Linked DNA regions of Homo sapiens: region 1 is linked to region 2. The links are contacts of gene promoters, found by promoter capture Hi-C in blood cells and fetal thymus (Javierre and others, 2016). All regions are on one chromosome and are shown on one strand. The core of a region is centred on a gene start or on the middle of the fragment in contact, and the rest is flanking DNA. Distances in the headings are between cores, read along the strand shown. Region 1 overlaps LOC105370943 (a long non-coding RNA gene). Region 2 holds the start of OIP5 (Opa interacting protein 5).

Region 1 (5,658 bases), core at 1,336-3,835, 420 kb after region 2:
GGTTAATGCAGGTGTCTCAGTACCTATGTGACACAAGTGGGGCCTCCAAGACGAGCAGACCAGAAAGCAGAGGCCATCACCGGGCAGGTTCTGTTAGAATGACACACTCTGGGCCAGCACGTGCATGCACACATACACATGTGCACACACACACTCTCTCTCACACACACTCTCACACACACACACAGTCACACTCAGTCACACACAGTCACACACTCACAGTCGCACACACACTCACACAGTCACACACACTCACAGTCACACACACACACTCACGCAGTCACACACAGTCGTACACTCACACACAGTCACACTCACACAGTCGCGCACACACACACACAGTCACACACAGTCACACACACACAGTCGCACACACAGTCGCACACTCACAGTCACACACACACGCACACACACTCACACACACACACACAGGCTGGGTGTTCTTCCTCGATAAACTCTCACTTTCTACGTTGGGTGCTGCGGTCCTAGGATGGGACAGGCTGCCTGGGCCTTTGGGGTAGGAACTGGCAGCACAACCACCACAGCAACAGGGCCTTGCCTAAGATGACCAAGTTTCTTTTCAAGTTAACAACAACAAATAGAACGGCTTCAGATGTGGGTTACTCGATTGTGGTTGGCAATGGATTAAGAAAATCATTTGCCCCCTCAGGCCCTGGATCCTCTTGTAGGGTGATGGTCTGCTCCGAGAGGCTCTCCTGCCTTCCTCTATCTACACAGTGGGCTCCACAGTGGCCTATATGGGGCCAGTGAGGCATTTGTTGGGGGGATGGGAGGAAATATGATTTCTATTTTGATTTATTTTTTAATTAAAAAACAATTTGGGAGGCTGAGGCAGGTGGAACACCTGAGTTCAGAAGTTTGAGACCAGCCTGCCCAGCCTGGCCAACATGGTGAAACCCAGTCTCTACTAAAAATACAAAAAATTAGCTGGGTGTGGTGGCGGGCGCCTGTAATCTCAGCTACTCGGGAGGCTGAGGCAGGAGAAACGCTTGAACCTGGGAGGCGGAGGTTGCAGTGAGCTGAGACTGCCCCACTGCACTCCAGCCTGGGCAACAAGAGCAAAATTCCATCTCCAAAAAATATATAAATAAATAAAATATTTAATAATAAATAATGTTTTAAAATAAATAATATTTAATATGTGTTTTGACTGTAGTGTATAATCTATGCATAAATATTCACAATCAAAAAAGTTTGGGAGGCCAGACACAGTGGCTCGCGCCTGTAATCTCAGCAATTTGGGAGGCCAAGGCAGGAGAATCTCTTGAGGCCCCAAGTTCAAGACCAGCCTGGGCAACATAGTGAGACCCCCATCTGTTTAAAAAAAAAAAAAAAGTCTGGAGACCACCATCCTGGAAGATCAGTGAGGGCTTTACATCCTATTGGAAGCCAGTTTCAGGCTGGGTGCTGGGGTAGGGGAAGGGAGTGTGGAGGAGGGGCTGGTGCGCTCCAGGTACAGGACCACGCAGCAGTCTGGATATTCCTGGCCACCACTGGTCCCCACGGCCTCCTTCTCCCTGTTCCCCCTTTAGGCCTGCGTAAGTCTCAGGGGTTCTAGGACCCTAGCTGCCAAGCTCCCTGCAAGGGAGAGAGTGGTCCTGGGTGACCGACACACTCCCCTGCCCCTCAGGCTGGCTGATGTGTGGCTCAGTGAGGCTAGGGTCCTTGTAGCTGCCCTGCATTCCATGTCATCCCCAGGAGAAAAGTCCCTGGCGGGAGGCGGCCCTCTGCCGGGAGGCTGTTTCCTCAAGCAGCCAAGGTAAGAAGTGGGGGATTTCCAGCCCAACCCGTGGGGCTGACTTCAGTACTGGGGGCTCCTCTCCTTTCTCATGCAGCCAGGCTGGGGTGAGCACACAAACGCTGGAGTTAGACCTGGTTGTGGGCAAGAGCATGTGGGGGCAGTGGAGTTAGCTAGGCCTGAAAGCCTGCAGCTGCCACGCCCTGCTCAAGAGAACCCCAGGGCTGTACCTGCAACCAACAGAGACCCAGCCCTGGAAGACCCCAACAGGCATCTCAGGGAGGGGACAGGGGTCTGGAAATCCAGCACCATACTTACTCATGGGCTTGTGGGGAATGACTCAAATTGATGAATGCCCCTGCTTAACCCCAGGTTCTGCCCCAGGGCTGCTGGGCGGGCCTGGTGGTAAGCGAAATGGCAGGTCTAAATCTCATCTCACAAGGCAGCATTAATTAGCCAGCACTTCCAAGGATGCTGGAGAGTCAAGGGAGCCAAGTTGGACCCATCAGGAGCTGGGAGCCAGAAGCCCCACATCCCAGACCATCTTGCCCTGAAAGCTTGGCCCACAGGAAAGGGGAGCTATCCCATACAGCATTCCCTCTATCCCTGCACTGCGCTCCGCTGGGCAGGGAGGGTGGGTGCAATCCTGGAGGCCAAATGGAGGAAGAGGGAGGAAGCCATAGTGCCCTGGTGATGGTGGCACACATGGACGTCCCAGCTCAGGCCTGTGGAAGGGCTTAGGAAACAGACTTTTCCTCTGCTCTTATTGAGTCTCCTGTGCCTCAGATACGCTTGTGAATTTTCATTTCATTACCCAGCTCATATGTTTGCTGAGTACACATGTATGTGCAGGCCTGTGTGATTGAGACATGCCAGGTCAAGGAACAGGCAGGAATTTATGCAAGGTTGCTGAGCAGAAGGAGAGGACCTGAAAAGTGAAATAATAGTCCAGCCACCACCATTGTAGGCTAGCAATGTGTCAAGACCTGAGCCAGGGGTTTTACATGCATTATTACCAATCTGCCCAGCAGCCAACCCTCTGAGGGAGGTATTATTATCTCCATTTTATAAATCGATAAATTGAATGAAGCTTAGAGAAGTTAAGTGACCAGCCTGAGGTCATGCGGTGAGCAAATCTAGGCCAGGATTTGAACCCGGTCAGTCTAAGGCCAAGCCAGAGATGTCTCCACCCAACTCTCTTGGTGTGGTCCTCCTCCATTACGCCCCATCTGTTCCTTGTCTCTGAGGCCCTGGCTGCCCTGGTCTGAGGTAACAGTTCCCTCCCCTCCTCCTCTCCCCTCCCGGCCAGGCAAGGTGGAAACACAGAGTTTGTTTGAGGCCTTGTGGAGCCCGAGAAGCAGTGAGCAGACCTTCACACCAGTCCAGGCCGGGTTCAAAGAGGGTCTGGCTGGCCCTGGGTGTGGGGGGGATCAGCTAGGGCTGAGCTGGGGCAGCTGTTTACAGTAAACAGAAAGCTCTTGAGGAAGGAAGGAGGGGAGGGGCTGGGGTCGTCATGGAGACAGGGACGAGCAGACAGGCCTCAGCCTTGATCCACAATGACTGGTAACGCATCCTTGCCTTCCAGAGCAGAGGAGGCCCAGGGAAGGTTGGGACAAGTCAGCCGGAGCAGGAGAGGCAGGGGCAGACAGGTCTGGCCCGGGGCAGACTCGCTAAGAACACACTCCCACCTCTTTGTGCCTTTCTACTTATTATTAACAATCACAACGCCTGCTTCTTGAGTTCTCACAGTACGTCTGGTGCGAGGCCCTTGAGAATATGTTTTCTTATTTAATCCCAACAATAGCCAGGTGGTAGGTACGATAATAGTCTCTAATTTATAGATGAGGAAATTGAGGTTCAGAAAGGTTAAGCAATTTGTCAAGGTCAAACAGCTTGTAAGTGACATAGCAGAAATTCCAGATCAAAAACTCTTTCCACCAAGGCGGGTAGGAGATGAGCTAGCTGGTGAAACTCTGAGCCCCTCAGATGGTGGGGAAACTGAGTCCCTTAGGTGTTAAGGGGACTTTCCCAGGCTTCTGGTGTTAGTCAAAGAGATTGCCGGGAACAGAACCCATCTGTTCTAGCCCTAACCACTAGACCACACGGCTTCTCCATGGCTTCAGCTGGGAAGGTCCAAAGAGAAACTCCCTTTCTAGCCCCAGTGTGGAGTGTAGACTCTTCCCCAGCTAACACGGTTATCCCTGCGGAGGCCAGGCTGGGCCAGGGTGCAGTGGGGGATGCTGGGGGGTTTCTGCCCACACATATGGTTTCCAGATTCCAGGGGATGAAAAGGAGGCCCTTAGGGGCGGAAATGGGGGATGTGTGATGACAAATTTAGACTGATTGCTTAAAAAAAAAAAAAGAAGCCAAGAAACCCTATAAAATAAAAGCAGAAATTCCACTAGAAAACCAGAGGGAGTTATTTGATTGTGAAACTGAGTGCCACGAGGCGTGCATAGTTTAATGTGGAACAATATCTAGGGTTCTTCCAACTTTGACTGTTCAGAGGATGCCGGGGAGGGAAGGAGGCTCTGTCTGCTGTTCCTGCTTCACCTGCTGGGGCCTGGGACAGGGAGCTAGTCGGGAAGGACACCTGGGAGGATGTCTGGAGTCGGGGCACTTGCAAGCGTCCTGCCGGCTGTGGCCAAGGATCCACACTGGCTCACATGGAGAGCGGCCCAGTGGAGGCTCCAGCTGGTCCGCACTGAGAGCATGGGGAAGGATGAGCTGGAAGCTGGGGGTTTGGGGTATCTCTGAGTTCCAGCCTTAGAGGGAAAGACCAGGAACAAAAGGTAAAAGAGAGAACATCTGCCTGGTATTCTGGTCGGCAGCAGGCCCAAGGGGTCAAAGGTCAAGGGGAGGACAAGGGGGACTTCCTGAAGCTCCCGGGAGAGTGCCAGCCAGGCCGACTGTTGTGCAAGTTCTGGGCTGGCCTGCGAGGGCAGGCTGGCAGAGGAGTCATGCCTGATCAGCGGCCAGCATGGTGTCTGCCCAGCCCTCTTGGCCTGTCCTATGAGACTCCTGGAGCTGGAGTAGTGCCCTGTCTCCTTTCCTTCAGGGAACCAGGACCCCCATCCCAAGGAAGCACTCTTGTCCCACCTGTGGCCATATTCTACATGCCTGTGGGCTTCCTCTCATTCTCATCCTGAACCTCTTTTCCTTAGAATCGCCATTGTTCAAGAAACCAGAAAAACCTACTCAAGCAAGCTTCTTTCTTCCAATTCCACTCTGATATCTGAAGAAGTCAGAGGGCCTTGTGAGGGATGAGCTGGGACAGGTCTCAGGGTCCTACGCCTACAGAAAGGAGGTGCAGAGTAAAAGGGAAGAGGGGCAAGTGCCCAGGGCTGCTTGGGCGCCAGGCCCTGGGCTACCTTGACAGATGGGCGGCACCGCTCTCATTTCAGCCTCACAAGAGCCTTTCCAGGTCTGTAACAGTTATTCACATTTTACAGGAGAAGAAATTGAGTTTCCAAGGGCTTGATTAGCCTGATGCTGGTAATGGCAGAGCAGAGACTTGCACTTGCTCTTTACAGATTATGTCCTTGTTCCTCGGTTCAACCCATTTTGGCTGGAGATGGAAAATGAGTATAAAGAAGGACCTAGGATGGTGCCCTGCTCACGACCAGCATGGGAACACAGTTAATCAAGGCTGAATCTCACGGACAGGGGCAGGATCCAGGATGGAGCCTCCTGTTAGCTACCAATTTGTCTTCTGCAATTCAGCAGCTGTAAAGTCAGGAGGTGGGATCAGCAGCACAATGTCTTTCAAACTCGGTTCCTGGGCATCCTGGCATCTTATGGATATCGTGATAGGGGGCCGGGCACAGTGGCTCATGCCTGTAATCCGGACACCCTAGGAGGCTGAGGTGGGAGGACTGCTTGAAGTCAGGAGTTCAAGA
Region 2 (6,347 bases), core at 916-3,415:
GGCAAGATGGTGAAACCCTATCTCTACTAAAAATACACACACACACACACAGCCAGGCAGATAAAGGAGAAAGAAGGTGATCTGAGGCTAGAGGGTCAAAATGAGCAATGGGACAAAGATAGATAAAAGTGCCAAGTGTTCAGGGATGCAGCCTTGGATAAAAGATTCTAGCTAGGCAGCAAAAAAGCCTAAGGAATTTAGGCTGAGATATTAAGGCTTTGTTTACGAAGTATAGAGGAGCCACTAACCACTACAGCCCAGAAATATCCCCAAGGAAAACCCTTTGGTCATTCAGCCCCAACAGGCACTTAGGCCCTGATTATTTTGTTTAAACAATTTAGGTCGGGTGGGGTGGCTCACGCCTGTAATCCCAGTACTTTGGGGGCTGAGGCGGGCGGATCAGGAAGTCAGGAGTTCGAGACCAGCCTGACCAACATGGTGAAACCCCATCTCTACTAAAAATACAAAAATTAGCCAGGCGTGGTGACACGCGCCTGTAATCCCAGCTACTCAGGAGGCTGAGGCAGGAGAATCGCTTGAACCCAGGAGGCGGAGGTTGCGGTGAGCCGAGATGGCGCCACTGCACTCCAGCCTGGGCGACAGAGCAAGACTCCGTCTCAAAGAAAAAACAAACAAACAAACAAATAAAAAAAAAATTGTGACGATTGATTTAAGCATTTACTCACTGTCAGTATCACAGCCTGCAGGAGAAACCTCCAGAGTATATAGCAGTATTATGTGGGAAGTCTCAACTATTAACAAAATATATAAAACCGCTATCCTACATTAAATCCCCAAATCTTCTTCTAACATCTTGGGTTTTTTGTTTGTTTTTGTTTTGTTTGAGACTGAGTCTCTCTCTGTCACCGAAGTTGGAGTGCAGTGGTGCGATCTTGGCTCACTGCCACCTCGGCTTCCCAGGTTCAAGCGATTCTTCTGCCTCAGCCTCCCAAGTAGCTGGGATCACAGGCAAAAAGCTTGGATCACAGGCGTGTGCCACCACGCCCGGCTAATTTTTTAAGGGCCAGGCTGGTCTCGAACTCCTGACCTCAGGTGATCCGCCTGCCTCGACCTCCCAAAGTGCTGGGATTACAGGCGTGAGCCACAGCGCCGGGCCAACTCTCCAAACATCTTGTAGCCTCGGAGTCAAAGACCTTACTGGTTTTGATAGAGACCATCAACCCAACAGTCATCAATAAAAATTTACCCAAGGAGGTGCTCCCCTAAAAGTCGATTTTTTTTTTCTGACAGGTCCATCAATAAAGTATCAAGAGATTATCGGCAATATTACAAATCACTGGAGTCTGTTTGGGGTTTTCCAGAAGCTGAGCCAATTATTTACTTAATTGTCTAACGATTAACGACACCCCTTGTGCTTTCTGGGCCTGAGTTTCGTAATCGACGCCCTGAGAGGTATACAGTAATTTCAAAACAAAACAAAACAAAAAACAATAAACCATCCCTCGGAATAGAGCTTATCATGTGAGCACCCAGACAAGCCAGCTTCAAAATGAGGTGAAAACTACAGTTCCTCTTCCGTTTATCAGAGTTCTAACTGGGACTACCGTGAACCACATCTACTGCCCGAGGGGCAGGGAGAGCTGCCTCAGTCCCGGGCTTCCCTCTCGGTCCCTTCGCACCGCATCTCCCCGAGGCCGCTATTCCCGCCGCGCCCGCCCAGGGACCCGCACCGCCAGCGCCGTACCCTCAGGTTGGCCCGGAGACCCAGACTCTTGGCTAAGTTCTGCAGGTCACTGTACTTGAGGGAGTCCAGCTCCTCTAGAGAGGGGATGATCATCGCGATTCGAAATCCCGGCGATACTCGGAAGATGGATCACCAAACTTCGTCAGCGCGGTTCAAATCCCTGGCGCCACTCTTAACTTTGACTAGGCAGAAATTTATAGACAGTTTAAATGAAGAATGCCGCGCTTCCATTGGTTGAAAATGCCTCAAAGGCGGGGTTTCTAACCCTGACCAATAGAAAGGCTGATTTCCCGTCCCAACAGAGGCGCGCTTTTTTCACACTTCACGAATACGCAGGCGCCAAAGGGCCTGTAACGCCTGTTCAGGTAACGAGTGCGCGGACTCGGACTCCAGTGCTTGGATTGCCCATGATGTCCAATGAGGACGCAGGAGCTGTGCTTGGGGCGGGGCCTGGCGTGTATTCGAAAGGAAGGCGCCGGCTGCGGGAAGATGGCGGCTCAGCCGCTGCGGCATCGCTCACGTTGTGCAACGCCGCCCCGGGGGGACTTTTGTGGTGGCACTGAGAGGGCGATTGACCAAGCTTCTTTTACGACCTCCATGGAGTGGGATACGCAGGTGGTGAAGGGGTCCTCGCCGCTCGGCCCCGCAGGGCTGGGGGCTGAGGAGCCAGCCGCCGGCCCGCAGCTGCCGTCTTGGCTGCAGCCTGAGAGGTGCGCTGTGTTCCAGTGCGCACAGTGTCACGCAGTGCTCGCCGACTCGGTGCACCTCGCCTGGGACCTGTCGCGGTCCCTCGGGGCCGTGGTCTTCTCCAGTGAGTGCAGTGAAGCGTTCGGGAAAGGCAGAGGCTAGCCCGAGAGGGTGTTCCCGCTTTCTCCACCGGGTGGCGGAGAACCACCTGGGGAAGAAAACGGGATGAAAAGTTGGAAGCAAATAACTCCTTGGCCTGGGGATGGGGCAGGGAATCGGGGAGTCTCCTGATATTTACGGCCAGGATGAGTCTGTCTAGAGGAGAGATTTTCCATTTCAAGGCCCGCAGAGTATGGGTTCTGACCCGTGTTTGTCTTCCTAGGAGTTACAAATAACGTCGTTTTGGAAGCGCCCTTCCTAGTTGGCATTGAAGGTTCACTCAAAGGCAGGTACGTATTGATAATTACATTGGTCTCTAGTCCCTGACTTTATGAGACTGAGGATCGTGGAACTGACATGTACGAGGAGAAAACAGTTTGGGATGCTGCTTTTACCTGTTTGACTCTTATATGAACTTGATGTATTAATGAAATGAAAAAGTTGTATTTGTGTATTGGTTTTAGGATCTTCCTGAGGGCCACTTCTCCCAGGTGGCTTGTACAAGTGAAGTGAGGCTAAGAAAGATGTATCTAGTAGTGGACAAAAGAAAAAAATAACCTTTTGGTTTACAGTGAGAATAACATACTATAAACTACAATCCTTTTAGATATTAGAACTTTTTGATACAGGGTCTTGCTCTCGCCCAGGCTGGAGTGCACTGGTGCGCTCATAGCTCACTACAGCCCCTACCTTCCTGGCTCAAGCTATCCTCCCAACCTCACCCTCCGGAGTAGCTGGGACTACAGGCACACAGCACCACTCCCGGCTAATTTTTAAATTTTTTGTAGAGGCCTTAGTATGTTGCCCACGCTTGATATTAGAACTTTTAAGTTTGCGATTATGGTTAGTTTGTAATAAGCTATGCCAGGGCTAATTCTTCAGTAACCCCAGAAACTGGAGAAAAACACAACTAGAATGTTATGTACTTGAATACTGCCTGGTAAACTTTGCGACCTGCCTGTACTATGATTTACAAGTGACAATAAAGTAGTCAGTGAATTTGGTATTGCAAGGCTCCTCAATTTTGAGTTTTGGCTTTAACATTGAGACAATTCATTTCATTCTGACCAGTTTGATTCAACGTTACGGTTAAAATATAGGAATTCTTAGTTGCTTTGTCCAGTAACCAGGAAGATTTCTGCAGCTTGGACAAACTTCAAAAACGGAGTTAGACCCACAGCTCCCTTTCTTTTTCCTGAATAAAAGACACTCCCTATCGCTATAGGAGTCCCCTTCCCACCCAAAGGGGACAAAGCAAGAAGGAGCAATTGCCTGCTTGGAATTGGGTGTATTCTGGGGCCAGAGGCAGAAGGTTCCTGAATGTGCTCTTGGAGAGGAGGCTAATGAATCTAGACCCGTGCTGTCCTATACTGTAATCACTAGTCATATGTAGCTATTATATATTATTAAATCTGCATTGAGATATGCTGTGAACACAGAATACACACTGGATTTCAAAGACTTAGTACAGAAAAATTAATCATTTACAAATACTGATTACGGGCCGGGCGTGGTGGCTCACACCTGTAATCACAGCACTTTGGGAGGCCGAGGCGGGCGGATCACAAGGTCAGGAAATCGAGACCATCCTGACTAACACGGTGAAACCGTGTCTCTACTAAAAATACAAAAAATTAGCCAGGCATAGTGGCGGGCGCCTGTAGTCCCAGCTACTCAGGAGACTGAGGCAGGAGAATGGCGTGAACCCGGGAGGCGGAGCTTGCAGTGACCGAGATTGCGCCACTGCATTCCAGCCTGGGCGACAGACTCCGTATCAAAAAAAAAAAAAAAAAAATACTGATTACGGCTGGGAGCGGTGGCTTACGCCTATAATCCCAGCACTTTTGGGAGGCCATGACAGGCAGATCACCAGAGGTCGGGAGTTCGAGACCAGCCTGACCAAAATGGAGAAACCCTGTCTCTACTAAAAATACAAAATTAGCCGGGCATGGTGGCACATGCCTGTAATCCCAGCTAGGCTGTAATCCCAGGAGGCTGAGGAGGGAGAATCGCTTGAACCCGGGAGGTGGAGGTTGTGGTGAGCCGAGTTCACGCCATTGCACTCCAGCCTGGGCAACGAGAGCGAAACTCTGTCTTAAAAAAAAAAATTGATTACATGGTGAAATGACATTTTTGATATATTGGGTTAAATAAAATATTTAAAAACTAATTTCACCTGTTTTTATTTTATTTTTTAAAGCAAAATTAGGCCAGGCGCCGTGGCTGATGCATGTAATCCCAGCACTTTGGGAGGCCAAGGCGGATGGATCACGAGGTCAGGAGTTCAAGACCAGCCTAGCCAAGATAGTGAAACTGTTTCTACTAGAAATACAAAAATTAGCTGGGCGTGGTGGCGGGCGCCTGTAATCCCAGCTACTTGGGAGACTGAGGCAGAGAATTGCTTGAATCTGGTAGGCGGGGGTTGCAGTGAGCCAAGATCATCCCACTGTACTCCAGCCTGGGCAACAGAGCGAGACTCTTCCTCAAAAAAAAAAGCAAAATGAATAGAAAATTTAAAATTACATATGTGACTCACATTATATTCCTATTAGACAATGCTTGTTTAGATGCTTTGTAAAAAACTGGAGGAAGGCCAGGTGCAGTGGCTTACACCTATAATCCCAGCACTTTGGGAGGCCAAGGCAGGCAGATCACAAGGTCGGGAGTTCGGGACCAGCCTGGCCAGTATGGTGAAACCACGTCTCTACTAAAAGTACAAAAATTAGGGGGGCGAGGTGGCAAGCGCCTATAGTCCCAGCTACTTGGGAGGCTGAGGCAGGAGAATGGCTTGAACCTGGGAAGCAGAGGTTGCAGTGAGCCAAGATCGCACCACTACACTCCAGCCTGGACGACAGATCGAGACTCCGTCTGAAAAAAAAAAAAAAAAAAAACTAGAGGGAAAGCCCCATGTGTTTCTGTATTTGTGGAGTAAGATGAGCTATATGGGACTTACGAAGAGGGTTATGAAATGGCACAGCTCAAGACAACTTGATTTTTTTCTAAGTGTAGGTTCATTACCTAGATGGGGTCAGAGAATGAATTAAGAGGATGATTAATGATGCAGCTAAAAGAGCATAAATTTTAGAGACAGCAGACTCGGGTTCTTTTTATTCTTTTTTTTTTTTTTTTTTTTTTTTTTTTGAGATGGAGTCTTGCTCTGACCCAGGCTGGAGCACAGTGGCGGGATCTTGGCTCGCTGCAACCTCCGCCTCCCGGGTTCAAGCTATTCTCCTACCTCAGCCTCCCGAGTAGCTGGGATTCCAGGCGCACGCCACTATGCCTGGCTAATTTTTGTATTTTTATATTTTTAGTAGAGACGGGGTTTCACCATGTTGGCCATGCTGGTCTCGAACTTCTGACCTTGTGATCCACCTGCCTCAGCCTCCCAAAGTGCTGGGATTACAGGTGTGAGCCACCGCACCAGGCCTTAACTTTACTCTTAATGAGGCATGTGAAATAAATTGATCCCTCTCAATCTGTCATATTTGAATACTCCTAAAATATACTCCCTCCGACATTTATTTAAACATTCTACAATTGGCATGAACCTCTTAGATTCAAAGTCATAAAGTAGACAGATACAAGGTTACTTCCGTCTACATTTTATTGTTCTCTTACTGGTAGAGGATTTATTGTAACTAATTTTAAAAAGGATTATTATAGTATGTTGACACTTAGAAATAGCTTTTTTACCCTGAGCTTTTGTTGTGCTCAACAGCATATTTAAATGGAATTTTGTTTGTATTATAAGTGAAGTACATTTTTTTCTAATTGTTATGGCAAATTCAAACCCGAG

What was found. The method cuts DNA at HindIII sites, captures the fragments that hold promoters and counts their contacts. A CHiCAGO score of 5 or more calls a contact.
Region 1: a fragment that was not itself captured here is called in contact with the fragment with the promoter of OIP5 in region 2 in 2 of 17 cell types (naive CD4 T cells and naive B cells); the score reaches 5.8 in naive CD4 T cells.

The regions. Positions count from the first base shown.
Region 1 is chr15:40,908,861-40,914,518 of GRCh38, reverse strand. It overlaps LOC105370943 (a long non-coding RNA gene), which reads right to left. Exons shown (of 2, transcript NR_135836.1): 2 at 5,168-5,658. Among named protein-coding and RNA genes, the nearest start is that of VPS18, 17 kb to the right of the region's middle. The HindIII fragment of the contact is 533 bases long and covers 2,319-2,851 here.
Region 2 is chr15:41,328,409-41,334,755 of GRCh38, reverse strand. It overlaps OIP5 (Opa interacting protein 5), which reads left to right and starts at 2,165. Exons shown (of 5, transcript NM_007280.2): 1 at 2,165-2,516; 2 at 2,775-2,841. The coding sequence starts at 2,195. It overlaps NUSAP1 (nucleolar and spindle associated protein 1), which reads right to left and starts at 1,875. Exons shown (of 11, transcript NM_016359.5): 1 at 1,706-1,875. The coding sequence starts at 1,798. RefSeq lists an enhancer at 2,152-2,411. The HindIII fragment of the contact is 1,308 bases long and covers 980-2,287 here.